Regions from separate parts of the Homo sapiens genome. Here region 1 is linked to region 2. The links are contacts of gene promoters, found by promoter capture Hi-C in human tissues and cell types (Jung and others, 2019). All regions are on one chromosome and are shown on one strand. Each heading gives the region's core, a stretch centred on a gene start or on the middle of the fragment in contact. The rest is flanking DNA. Distances are from core to core; before and after follow the strand shown.

Region 1 (6,381 bases), core at 2,699-5,198, 67 kb before region 2:
AATAGAGGGTCTTAACCAACACCCTTAGGACTGTAACATTCTCTGATTCTCTTCCTGGTTTCCTACTCCATCATTTTTATTGGCCAGGAAAATTAAAAGTCAAGCCTATAAAGAGGTCATGTGGAATAAATAAAAGCATAAGATTTGTCCCAAGACTTGGGTCCAACACTGAGCTCAATTTACCAGCTGTGTGACCAGCCACCACTTTCAGAATTGAGGTTCCTTGTACATAAAATGAGGAAAACAGAATTACCTCCCTTACAAGATTGCTGTGGGGATCAAATGATGTAATGGAAATCACCATAAAATTGTAATGCACCATAAAAAAAAAAAGTCATTAGATTTAAAGGTTTTTTTTTTTTTTTTAAAGGCTTCTTGTCTTTTACCATGAAATAAAATTCCTTCTAACAGGCAATACTTCCTGTTTAAGACCCATTTAGATGCTTGGTTATGAGGAAAAAGTCATATTCCTAAGCAAGTAAAAGCCTACCTAAATCTCCAGAAAGTTTGAATATTTTCCTAAGTATATTTTTATTGAAACTTCTCATTTAAAATGTGAAGAATTCATGCAGAAAAGTCATTACATAAAATAAAGTATTTGTAGAAAGCAATGGCATCAGGTTCAAGGCTTTCTGGCTAGGTTTTCTCAAGAGACATTTAAAAATTATATCCTGTTGGGCACTACATTAAAAAAAAAAGTTTTATAGCCAGACAGGTGAGTGAAGGGGGTGTATAAGACATGAAACATACAAGAGTGAGGAGTTACATCCATTTTTAAAAAGTCTATATTTCTCTGCTCAGCAGACAGAAAAGAATATTAACTGCCATTAATGACCCTCCACTACTCTGATTAAGACACTCTTTGAGGCCTTAAGAAAAGTCCCTTAGAACCAGATCACTTGTTTAGTGTAATATTGGCTTTCTATCCTTATTCATAAAAATATTATTTGAGATAGTGAAGTTTTTTTTTTAAGAAGACAGAACAAGTGCAAGGATGATTATGAAAATGTTTTGAAATGTATAAAGCACTGTACAAATGGAAAGCATTACCACTGTTAAAACTATCAAAGATTCATTTTATATATCCTTTTTATTAATCTGTTATTACAATTTACTTTATGATGCCTTAAAGAATAAAAGTAATGCAGTAATGAAGCTATAAAATGAAGAGAAAGAAAAAAATTCCTTTGAGTCACTCTCAATTTAATACTACAAAAAGCATTTCTAGTCAGAGAAAGAACTCTACAATCTTTTGCGGACAAGAAGATATGGCATTAAACTGTGGAGTTTTTAAGGGCGAACAGGGATATACTAATTCAATATTTATTCATTCCCATTCTCTTTGTGTGTATGTGTGTGTGACACCTAAAAATATGACACCTAAAACTACTTCCTGGAGGATCAAACAATCCACTCTACAGACTCACCAAAGACATACAAAATGAGGTACATTAAAATATCCAAACACTGCATTTTAAGAGAAAAGAAAGTTCAGTATTAAATCCAAGACTCTCCATCCACTTCCCTGAGCCCCACCCCTACCCATCCTGTCTCTTGACCTTATCCCAGCCTCTGCTCTGACTGCTGAGCCCATGTAGATAAGCTCAACAGTTTAAGCTAAGAATCTGGGGGGAAATGTTACATACAATACACTTTTTACATATGATGCACTCTAAAAAGAAATGCATGTAAGTGATTATTAGAGGAGAGAAAATGGGAAGATACCCATGGTTCTTTCTACACCACTTTATTCCTGTTTTAAATACATAAATTATACGAGGCAAATGCTTAATCATGAGATGCTATGATATTCCACATAGACATATACCCAGTATATATATGGAACAGGAATACAACATTATTAATATGCCCACTCCATATACTCACAAATATGATCCAAATTGCCCTTGCCTAAATTGTCACTTTGAGAGGCAAAAAAGGTTTCCGAAAAGGGGATAGCTTTGAAATCAAAAATCCTTAATTAAAATTACAGCTCTGCTGTTCACAATAGCAAAGACATAGAACCAATCTAAATGCCCATCAGTGATAGACTGGTTAAAGAAAATGTGGTACATATATATACACCATGGAATACTATGCAGCCATAAAAAAGGATGAGTTCATGTCGTTTGCAGGGACATGGATGAAGCTGGAAACCATCATTCTCAGCAAACTAAAACAAGAACAGAAAGCCAAACACCACATGTTCTCACTCATAAGTGGGAGCTGAACAATGAGAACGCATGCACACAGGGAGGGGAACATCACACCCTGGGGCCTGTCGTGGGGTGGGAGGCTACGGGAGGGATAGCATTAGGAGAAATACCTAATGTAGATGACAGATTGGTGGGTGCAGCAAACCACCACGGCACGTGTATACCTACGTGAGAAACCTGTACGTTCTGCACATGCACCCCAGGACTTAAAGTATAATAACGAATAAAATAAATGTTCTAAAATTGAAAAAAAAAATTACAGCTATGCCACTCCCCAGCTGGGTGCCTTGGTCACATTATTTAACCTGAGACTCAGTTTCCTAATCTGTAAAATGCGGAAAATGACACCAACCTTGCAGGGTTCTTGTGAGAATGAGAGATAATGCAGATAAAGCACCTGTCAGGTGGCCATTTCTCAAGATACATAAGAATGACTATGCTCCCTTCTAGGCAGAAGAGAGGATGTTTTGAAATATTTAAGAAGCATAAAAAGTGCTGGGCGCGGTGGCTCACGCCTGTAATCCCAGCACTTTGGGAGGCCGAGGCGGGCGGATCACAAGATCAGGAGGAGATCGAGACCATCCTAGCTAACAGGGTGAAACCCGGTCTCTTCTAAAACCACAAAAAATTAACCGGGCGTGGTGGCGGGCACCTGTAGTCCCAGCTACTTGAGAGGTTGAGGCAGGAGAATGGCGTGAATCCAAGAGGCAGAGCTTGCAGTGAGCCGAGATCGCGCCACTGCACTTCAGTCTGGGTGGCAGAGCGAGACTCCGTCTCAAAAAAAAAAAAAAAAAAAAAAGGTGCATACAAAGTATCATTGCTCAGAGTCAGGGCAATGTCTTAACCTTCTTTATACCTTTCTGAATTTAGCACACTAGAGGAAGCACCTGGTAAATATTTAGTTAATTGTTTCTGAATGAAGTACACATGCGTATTCTTTGGGTCAGGATGCTTAAGCATCTACCTATATCTATTAATACAAGGAGTATATGTAAAGGTTCACGTTTATGTTGGAGAATAACAACAGTCAACTAATTACTGAGGCCCCACTGGGTGCAAAGTACTACATATGTGTATGCTTTGTGCATTTGTGTCTATCTATATTTGTATTATTTCAGAGGTACATAAACACGCATCTCTTGCTTGCACGTTTTGCCCGAGTGCCAAAATGTACCTTTGAGTGTATCTGCATGTGCGGTGCTGCGTGAGTTTCCCAGAAAGGTGCAATAAGTGCTTATGTGTAGTTGAAGCGCACACTATACAGGCATACTGAACATGCACTAGTCTGCCCCCGCGTGAACACGTGTGCCTGGGTGCAAAAAAAATGGCTCTCTGCCGGGTCTGCGCTGTGCCAGGTAGGAGTGGCCTGGCTGTCGGTCGCGTAGCTGACAGCAGTGCGCGGGGGTCTTCGCGGCTGCAGGGCTCCTCGGTCAGTGTGTGCGGGATTCCGGGCGGCCTCGGCGCCCACCAGCAAGCCCCTCACCTCCGCCCAGCCCCTTCGCGTGCCGCCGCCCGACCCCAGCCCAAGAGGCCCCGCCGCGCCGGCGCCCCGGAGGCTCCAGCCCGTACCCCTTGTTGGTGCTTCCGGACAGGGGGCTTCACCCTCGCGAATATCTGGATAGTCTGCTTCACCATCTCCTCCCTGGCTCTGCAATGACCCTTGACCTCTCTCAGGCCCGGGCTGCCAAAACTAACTCCCACCACCTCCGGCGACCCACAGTCTTAGCAACAGTAGCTAGGGACACTACCCAGTGAGCACCTTGGCAGCCAGGATCCCGCCTCCTCCCTCTAATTGGTCGCGACCGGAAGGAGGCCACTACGGGGCGGGGCTAGGGAGGGGAGGGCGGGGGTGGAGAGGAGAGCGCTGCGCATGCGCATGAGCGAGTGTCTGGGCTCTGGGTTTAGCGCCGGACCCGGCCTGGACCGTGTGGTTAAAGGGGAACAACCACCATGCCTTGCCCCGCCCCGCTCATTCACCCATTTTATTCTCCATGCCCTTGCCTTTAAAAAAAAATACAGCACTGGGCCGGGCGTGGTGGCTCATGCTTGTAATCCCAGCAGTTTTTGGGAAGCCGAGGTGGTAGGATCGCTTAGAGCCCAGGAATTTGAGACCAGCCTGGGCAGCATAGTGAGACTCCGTCTCTACAAAAAATACAAAAGTTAGCCAAGCGTGGTGGCGCGCCTGTATCCCAGCTACTCGGGAGGTTGAGGCAGGAGGATCGCTTGAGCCCGGGAGGTCGAAGCTGTAGTGAGCCAAGATTGCAGAACTGCTCCAGCCCACTTGGAGATCACAGTCTGAAGAAGGAGACAGATTTTTTTTTTCCTTCACAAGGTCTCTCAAGTGACAAGGAGACAGATTTTCAACAGGAAATCAAAACCAAGGAATACAAACTATGCCATGATGGAATTAGAAGTGGGGCTAGCTCTGTTTTGGAAAAGGATAAAACTGGATGAAGGGGACTGTTTCCCACACAATGGTCACGGCAAGAAAGGATGAGCTCTTCAAACACTGTTAGCACATGAAAAGATAGTCAACATTATTATCCACGTGGGAAATATAAGTTAAAACCACAATGAGGCATCACTATTCATCTATCAGAATGGCTTAAAAAAAAAAAAAAAAAAAAAAAGTGGCAACACCAGATGCTAGCAAAGATGTGGAGAAACTGAATCAGTTGCACTTTACTGGTAGGAATGTATAATGTAAAACATACACTGTATAAAGGTACAGCCACTCTGGAAAATAGTTTGACAGTTTCTTACAAAACTAAAGGTGCAACTACTCTAAGACACAGCAATTGCACTCTTGGGCATTTATCTCAGATGAATGAAAACGTGTGTTCACACAAAAACCTGCGCATGTGTGTTTATAGTTTTAGCACCTTTATTTGTAATAGCCCCAAACTGGAAAAAAAACCCAGATGTTCTTCAGCTGATAGTTTAAAATAACTGGAATACCATTCAGCAATTAAGAAGGAAGGAAGTGTTGATACACGTAACAAATTGGTTGAATTTTCGGGGAATTATGTTTCATGAAAGAAGCCAGACTCGAAAGCTAACTACCGTATGGTTCTATTACTATTGCCAGGGAGGTGTGCAGGGTATGGTTATAAAAGAAATCCTTGTGATGGGCTGTTCTGTATCTTGACTGTGATGGTGATCACAGAAATCTACACATGTGATAGCATTGCATAGAACAAATTACACACATGTTCAAATAAGCACATGTAAAACTGGCAAAAGTCACATAAAATTGAATAAGATTGATGGATTGTATCAATGTCAATTCCCTGATTTTTATATTGTACTATAGTTATGCAAAACATTACCACTGGGGAAAACTGGGAGATGGGTATACGAGTTCTCTCTGTATTATTTTTTACAAAACAAAAAGTTTATTAAAGACACCCTTTTTTCTTTCTTTCTTTTTTGAGACAAGGTCTTGCTCTGTACCCCAGGCTGGAGTGCAGTGGCATGAACACGGCTCACTGCAGCCTCAACCTCCTGGGCTCAAGCGATTCTCCTGCCTCAGCCCCACAAGTAGCTGGGCTTATAGACATGTGCCATCACACTCAGCTAATTTTTGTATTTTTTGCAGAGACAGGATTTCATCATCTTGCCCAGGCTGGTCTTGAACTCCTGAGGTCAAGCAATCCACCCACCTCAGCCTCCCAAAGTGCAGGGATTACAGCCATGAACCACTGCACCCAGCTGAAAGACACTTAAGAAAACAAAAAGACTAACTACAGATTGGGAGAAAACTTTTGCAAAACACGTATCTTGATAAAGGACTTGCATCCAGAATATATACAAACTGTTAAAACCTAATAATAGAAAAACAAACAATTCATTTGTTTAAGGTGAAGGGAGGGTGCAAAGATTTGAACAAACGCTTCACCAAAGAGGATCTATGGATGGCAAATAAGCACATGAAAAATATGCTCAATATCATTAATCATTAATGAAATGAAATTAAAACCACAATGAGATACCACTACACATCTCTTAGAATGGCGAAAAATAAGAAAATAAAACTGACAAAACTAAGTGCCGACATGGATGCAGAGCATCTAGAACTCTCAAACATCACTGATGAGAAAACAAGATGGACCAGCCACTTTGTAAAATAGTTTTGTAATTTCTTATAAAGTTATACACATACTTA
Region 2 (5,648 bases), core at 131-2,630:
AACCAGCTGCTGCCAAAGAGGTAAACACATTCCAAGTCCTTGAGTCCCTGCTGCACTGTAACTGTGGTTAAAACACAACCCCGCCTCTACCAGTTTGGGCTAATGGAAAGTTCACTATAGTTGTGTTTTAATGATGATTTGCAATTATCCGTGCCCCCTCCCATTCATGGTGAGATGAATACCTAAACACTTATGTTGTCTAACCATATAAGTATTTTGCATCTCACGTGTATCATTTTAAGTTCATTTCATTCTCCAATCCTTGGGAACCATGAAGGATAACACATTACATTCTCTTTTTTTTTTTTTTTTCCTCTGGAAGATCATGCATTACATTCTCTTTTTTTCTCTGGAAGGGTGGCCCTTAAACCAAGCCATTTCCCTAAGCCCCTTTGGTGAGGTGGAGAAACAGACAACCACTAACACAGAACAACCACTGAACACCCAGAAAACTGTATACAGGTCATCACCCAGTGGGGGCACCATTTGCTTGCAGAGGGAGCTGGGGAAAATAGGAAACAGAGAAGATCAAATACTCCCCGTGAGGGTGTTGCCAATCCCAGAGAGGACAATTGCTCTTGACCAAAGCAATCTCTAGTTCAGTCAAGGAGACAGACCACAATCACATTTAAAAAAAAAAGAAAAAAAAAAACTAAAAGGAAATTTTAAAAGTATGAATAAGAGCTATTGTAAACTGCTCAAACTATGCATACAAGCAATGAAGTAAGATGAATTGACTGGCACTGAATTGGAAAAGCTATACAGAGGCAGGGAGTGTGGAACATAATTTAATAAAAATAAACTTAAAAAAATATATATACACTCCCAAAAAAGAAATGGAAAAGTTGTTAGGGCGTGGACCAGGACTCCTAATTAGCTGTTCTGTTGTGCCTGATTTCGCTCCTGTCTTGCCCAGCACCCCTTGGGACACACTGTCCAGTGCAGGGACACTTTGGGGAGGGACAGGGGATTCCTTGGCACCGGGACCTTCACCTCCGAGCCGGCCTCAGACCAGGCCATTTGCCCGTAGCCCAGAGGAGGAGCCGGGGAGAAACCCGCTGCCCAGGTGGCCACTTTTGCCTCTTTGACCCTTCCATGTTTCCAAAACAGAAGGGGCCCTGAGAACGCTCCCTGCCAAAGTGGGGAACAGCTACCCTCATTGTACGCCTCGCCCTGCCGGTGGCGCTCTCCCCCCGCCTGCGTTCGGTCTGAAAGTGTGAAAATTACAAATCCCAAGAAACTGCAATCAGAAGTCTACCTAGGGAAAATTCAGAGTAACCTTGCCATAAATATCCCGCTCCAAGACGCCTGACGTCAGAGCGGGGCGGGCGGACGGGCGCGAGGCCGGGCCTGGAGGGGCGGCAGCCGCGGCTTCCCGGGGATAGCGCGGAGCACGCAGCAGCGAGCGGAGCGCGGGCGGCGGCGCCGTACCTCGGGCTGCGGGAGCGCGGGCGCCCTGGGGTCCTCGGAGTAAGTGCGGCCGGCCCTGGCGCTCCCCGTCTTGGGGCCCGGGCCGCGGGGAGCCCTCTCCGCTGGGCTCCCACACTTCTCTCCCTCTGCTTTCTTTAGCATGCCCCGCGGGGCTTGGGGAGGCAGCAGCTCCGCAGGCTGGCGGTTTTGTTTCTCCAAAGTGTTTGCAGGAGCCGCCGACCCCGGAGTGGGCTCCCAGGGCCTGTGTGTGTGTGAGTTGTGTGTGTGTATGAGTGTGATTGCGTGTGTCTGTACTGGCACATCTGGACATAGGAAATGTCTTTGGAAAACTTTTTAAAAATGTTTTTTGCGGCTTTGAAACCTGACCCCTGGTTGTCACAAGTGGACAAACACAGAAGATACCCCGCAAAACTGACAACTTTTTGGTGGTGGCTTTTCCGGGTTCGGCTTGAACCTTCACTTGGCTGGGCTGAAGTCTTCACAAGCCCCCAGCTCCCACTTGCAGGCCTGGCCTCTGGCCAGTGGGCAGGGCAGCCGTAAGGTTCTTGTTCTCAGTGGCAGTGGGACCCTGGGCGGGGGAAGGAGCATCTCAGGAAAGGGGTCCCCGGACTCTGGGGCTCTCAGCACCTGCGGTCGCAAACCAACCTCATGCCCTGACTTTACCAGGCGTCGGGACTCTGACTTAACCGGGGAATGAGGGACTTGGTCTGGCGGCAGGTAATTTTGTGAAGAGGATGAGAAGGAAGAGGGGGAGGTGGTGGTGATGGCCAGGACGCTGTGGCCCTGTGTCCAGCCGTAGCTTGGGAGTGGGATGGTTGGTTCTGCCACATGGCCACGGTGAGGTACGTGCCAGGTTCTCCAGGAGTGCCGCGTGTGGTGCCCCAAACAAGATGCAAGCTCCTAACATAAAGAGACGTGTCTGAGCTGTGGGGTGGAGGAAGGGGGGCGGTGGGGGAGAGGGAGATTTTTATCAAAATTGAACACAGATTGCTGAGATCTGGGCTTGATTTAACTCTTCTCTCTCTGCCTCGGCCACTTCTCCACAGTTTTGGAGTGGATTTGGAACGTTTCTCGGAGGGTTAGAGGAAAATCACACCTCTCCGGAAAAGAGTCCCCATAGGTTTTCCCTTGATGCCCACGTGGGAATGAAAGCAGCTTCCCATCTTTAAAAAGTTCAAAGTCTTGTGTTTTCCCCCTTCTGAGTTTGGTGTTAGTTTCCTGAGTTTCTTTGCAAAGCCAGCTGAAGCGGGGGATGGATTTTCCCTAGGGCCTAGGGCGGAAAGTGTGCTCCACGGAGAGTAGGGGAAAAAAGCAGCAGTGAGGCTGTATCGATCCATCATCCCTGAGTAGCACAGTGCCAGGCACTGCCTGTCAATAGCTGGGTTCCACAAACGAGTGACCACAGACAGACTGAATTTTCAGCTTTGAGCTAGCCAGGTCTCTGGTTTTGTATTTTGCAGTAGAGCCAACCTACAATGTCTGGGTGGGAGGAAGATTACTGGACTCTCCCTCTGTCCTAGAAAAATGAGAAAATGAAGGGACAGGGAGGAAATCTGGATGTAAAAACAGACCCACAGGAAGTTAAGATTCAGGAAGGATTTTAGAAATTATATAAATTGAACCCCAGGGAAGCTCCATAAAAGATGGAGCAGGCAGCAATGTCAGAAACAGACTCATTTAACTTCAGGAGTACGTTGTCAACTGAAGTGTAATGAAGGAGGAGGAAATCATCCCATAGGCAATGTAAACAAGGGTGCATGTAAACAGGAGTGACTGGTCCCCATGAGATGCACATGCCTATGTGTTTTTACACATACATGACTGTGTGGTGATGGCCATGGCCTTAGACATGGGAGGATAAATGGTCTATTTCTTCATCTGTGCTGGGAACTCCATCTAACCCCCATTTCTTCCTTTATGCAAACAACTGTGCTATTATTGTCTTGCTCCCTGGTAGTTGCAAACTCTGGCTCCTAACTCCCAGCTGAGTTTTCAGAGCTTTTCCTCCAGCGCCTCGGATGCTGAGGGAATACTCGTGCCCCCATCAGGACAAAAAGAGGAGAGAACATTCTCCTGGGCATTAGAACTTAGAGAGTCAGGGGCTCAAGAAGGCGGAGGCTGTGCAGGCAAGACCAATAGGAAGGCCTGTAAATGATTTTGTTTTTGGTGAGCGTGGAGGAAGTTGAAATACTACTGCTTGCTGTGAGAACATGTTCTCTCCCCAGTCTTCTTTCCCGACTGTCTCCAAAGTTTTTGATGCAAAACAGATTAAACTCCCCATTACTAAAGAGCCTTGGATCCAGGTGTAAAGAATGAAGATAAAGGGTAAGTACAGGCAGTAGAGAAAGCATAGAGATAATGAAAGATGAGGCTTTCTTATTTGATTTTACTAGAGCCAATGGAAGTAACAAGTTTAAATGTTCTCATTCATTTCCATTATTTAAACATAGAAGACTACCCAGGGACAGAAGGGACCCCTCGGAACAGGATTCCCAGAAATACTCTTATCCCAGCATACAACTCCTCAGGGACAGGTGAGGGGCAAGAACTGGGTTTTCAACTCTTTCTACATGTGGGGTTTCTGGGAGTGCTGCATGTGGGATCAGTGGAGTCCTGATGCTTCTGGGCTTGTACTAGGAGACATTTCACTATGGCCGGGATGAATTCCCAGGCCATGGATGCCTAGGCTGACATTGAAGCCTTCTCATGGCTCATTCTATCAGTTCAATCTTCTGGCCAGCTCTTTGGTCATCTTTGAGATTAGATTAAGTAGATGGGATGCATTCCAAGACATCCTTGAAGGTCCAGAGGGCAAACACAGCTGGCAGAAAGAACAAGTTGAAGGATATCCTTGGCTTTGATAGCGGATGACCCTCTAGATCTCAACAGCCAGAGACTCTGTCAAGGATCCTGTGTCATTCAGCCCTAGACTTCAGAGGCAGCCCGACAACAATGGAAAGAGTGCAGATTTCTGATCAGCTGCCTGGAGAGAGAGAACTGTGACCTAAATACGAATTAGTAACCTGGGCTACATGACTTATTCCTTCTGAGCTTCAGCTTCCTCATCTGTAAAATAAGGATAGTATTTCCCTCCCCAGGTCATTATGAAAACATTTATGCACAAGAACTAAGAACAGAGCTCAGAATGTTATAAGACCCTTCATAAAGGGAGTGCTGTATTTTTATTTTTCAGTTTTTCAGCCATCACAAGCCAGTATTGCTTGGAAAGAACCTCTCCCCAAATCTAGCTACATATTTTCCATGATTGAAGGCTAGTGGGTGGAGTTTCTAGGGCTCTGATCATCCTTACTTCCTTCCTCTAGAAAAGGTGACCAATGAAGATATTCCATGAGCATCCCTGGTCCATTATCCTGAAGTGTGGGAGAAGAAACCAGGGATCCTGGATGTCTGGCCTAGAAATCACTCTTGTGTTTGTGCTCTTTAGGGAGGGAGAAGGACAGAAGAGCAGGTTGTATAAGTATGGTGGGGAGGGGAAAGGTAGGGAGGTGGGGGTAGGGCAGGAGGGTCAAGGACCAATTGGATCTTGAAGGACAAGCCTGAGTCAGAGAGCGGGTAGGCAGCCACTCCTTGTCAAGGGTGCTCAGGTCAGAGTAATGGGGGAATCTGATGGGTTGTAAAGAATGAAAGCTTTAGTCATTGCAAACATCTCCAGTGGGTATGGGGTGGGAGGCTGCCCCCTGAACCCTGATTGATACATTATCCAAGGGAGTGACTACTCCAAAGGAACAAAGGAACATCTGATGTTAGAGAGCAGCTGCAGGTCCTCTTGGCCCATCTCAAAGCTTGTAAGTTATCCTTCAAGTTGACATTTAAGATTTTGAAGATCACATTTGTTTTTGTTTTGTTCAAGCTCTCTCTTTAACCATGGCCTGGGATGACTTTTAAGCTTTTAAGAGGCTCAACCAGTGGTCAACTTCTCTTGAGATGGCCCAGAGCGGGGGTCAGTGAATTCCTCACTCTTGGCAGCATCTATTTCTCCAACTCTCTCCACATTTTTTGGTTTGTTTTTTGTTTCATTATGAGGTTCTAAAACTGCACAGTCAAGATGCTGTGGGGGGAGGAAGTAAGTGCCTGTTCTTGGAACCTGTGCAGCGTTATGCTAGCACTGGCCAAGACTTATCAGACTATGGTTATTAATAGGTGTTATGGGTTTCTTTCTGGGGTCCCCCTCCAAAAAAAAAAAAAAAAAAAAAACC

What was found. Contacts are between HindIII fragments. The study calls those that stand out against the background at their distance.
Region 1: a contact is called between the fragment with the promoter of KIF6 here and the fragment with the promoter of DAAM2 in region 2, in 1 of the 25 tissues and cell types used here (adrenal gland).

What each region holds. Positions count from the first base shown.
Region 1 is chr6:39,721,460-39,727,840 of GRCh38, forward strand. It overlaps KIF6 (kinesin family member 6), which reads right to left and starts at 3,949. Exons shown (of 23, transcript NM_145027.6): 1 at 3,786-3,949. The coding sequence starts at 3,851. RefSeq lists silencers at 3,670-3,739, 3,952-4,283, 3,990-4,189. The HindIII fragment of the contact is 25,522 bases long and covers 1-6,381 here.
Region 2 is chr6:39,790,996-39,796,643 of GRCh38, forward strand. It overlaps DAAM2 (dishevelled associated activator of morphogenesis 2), which reads left to right and starts at 1,381. Exons shown (of 25, transcript NM_001201427.2): 1 at 1,381-1,470. The HindIII fragment of the contact is 10,904 bases long and covers 1-5,569 here.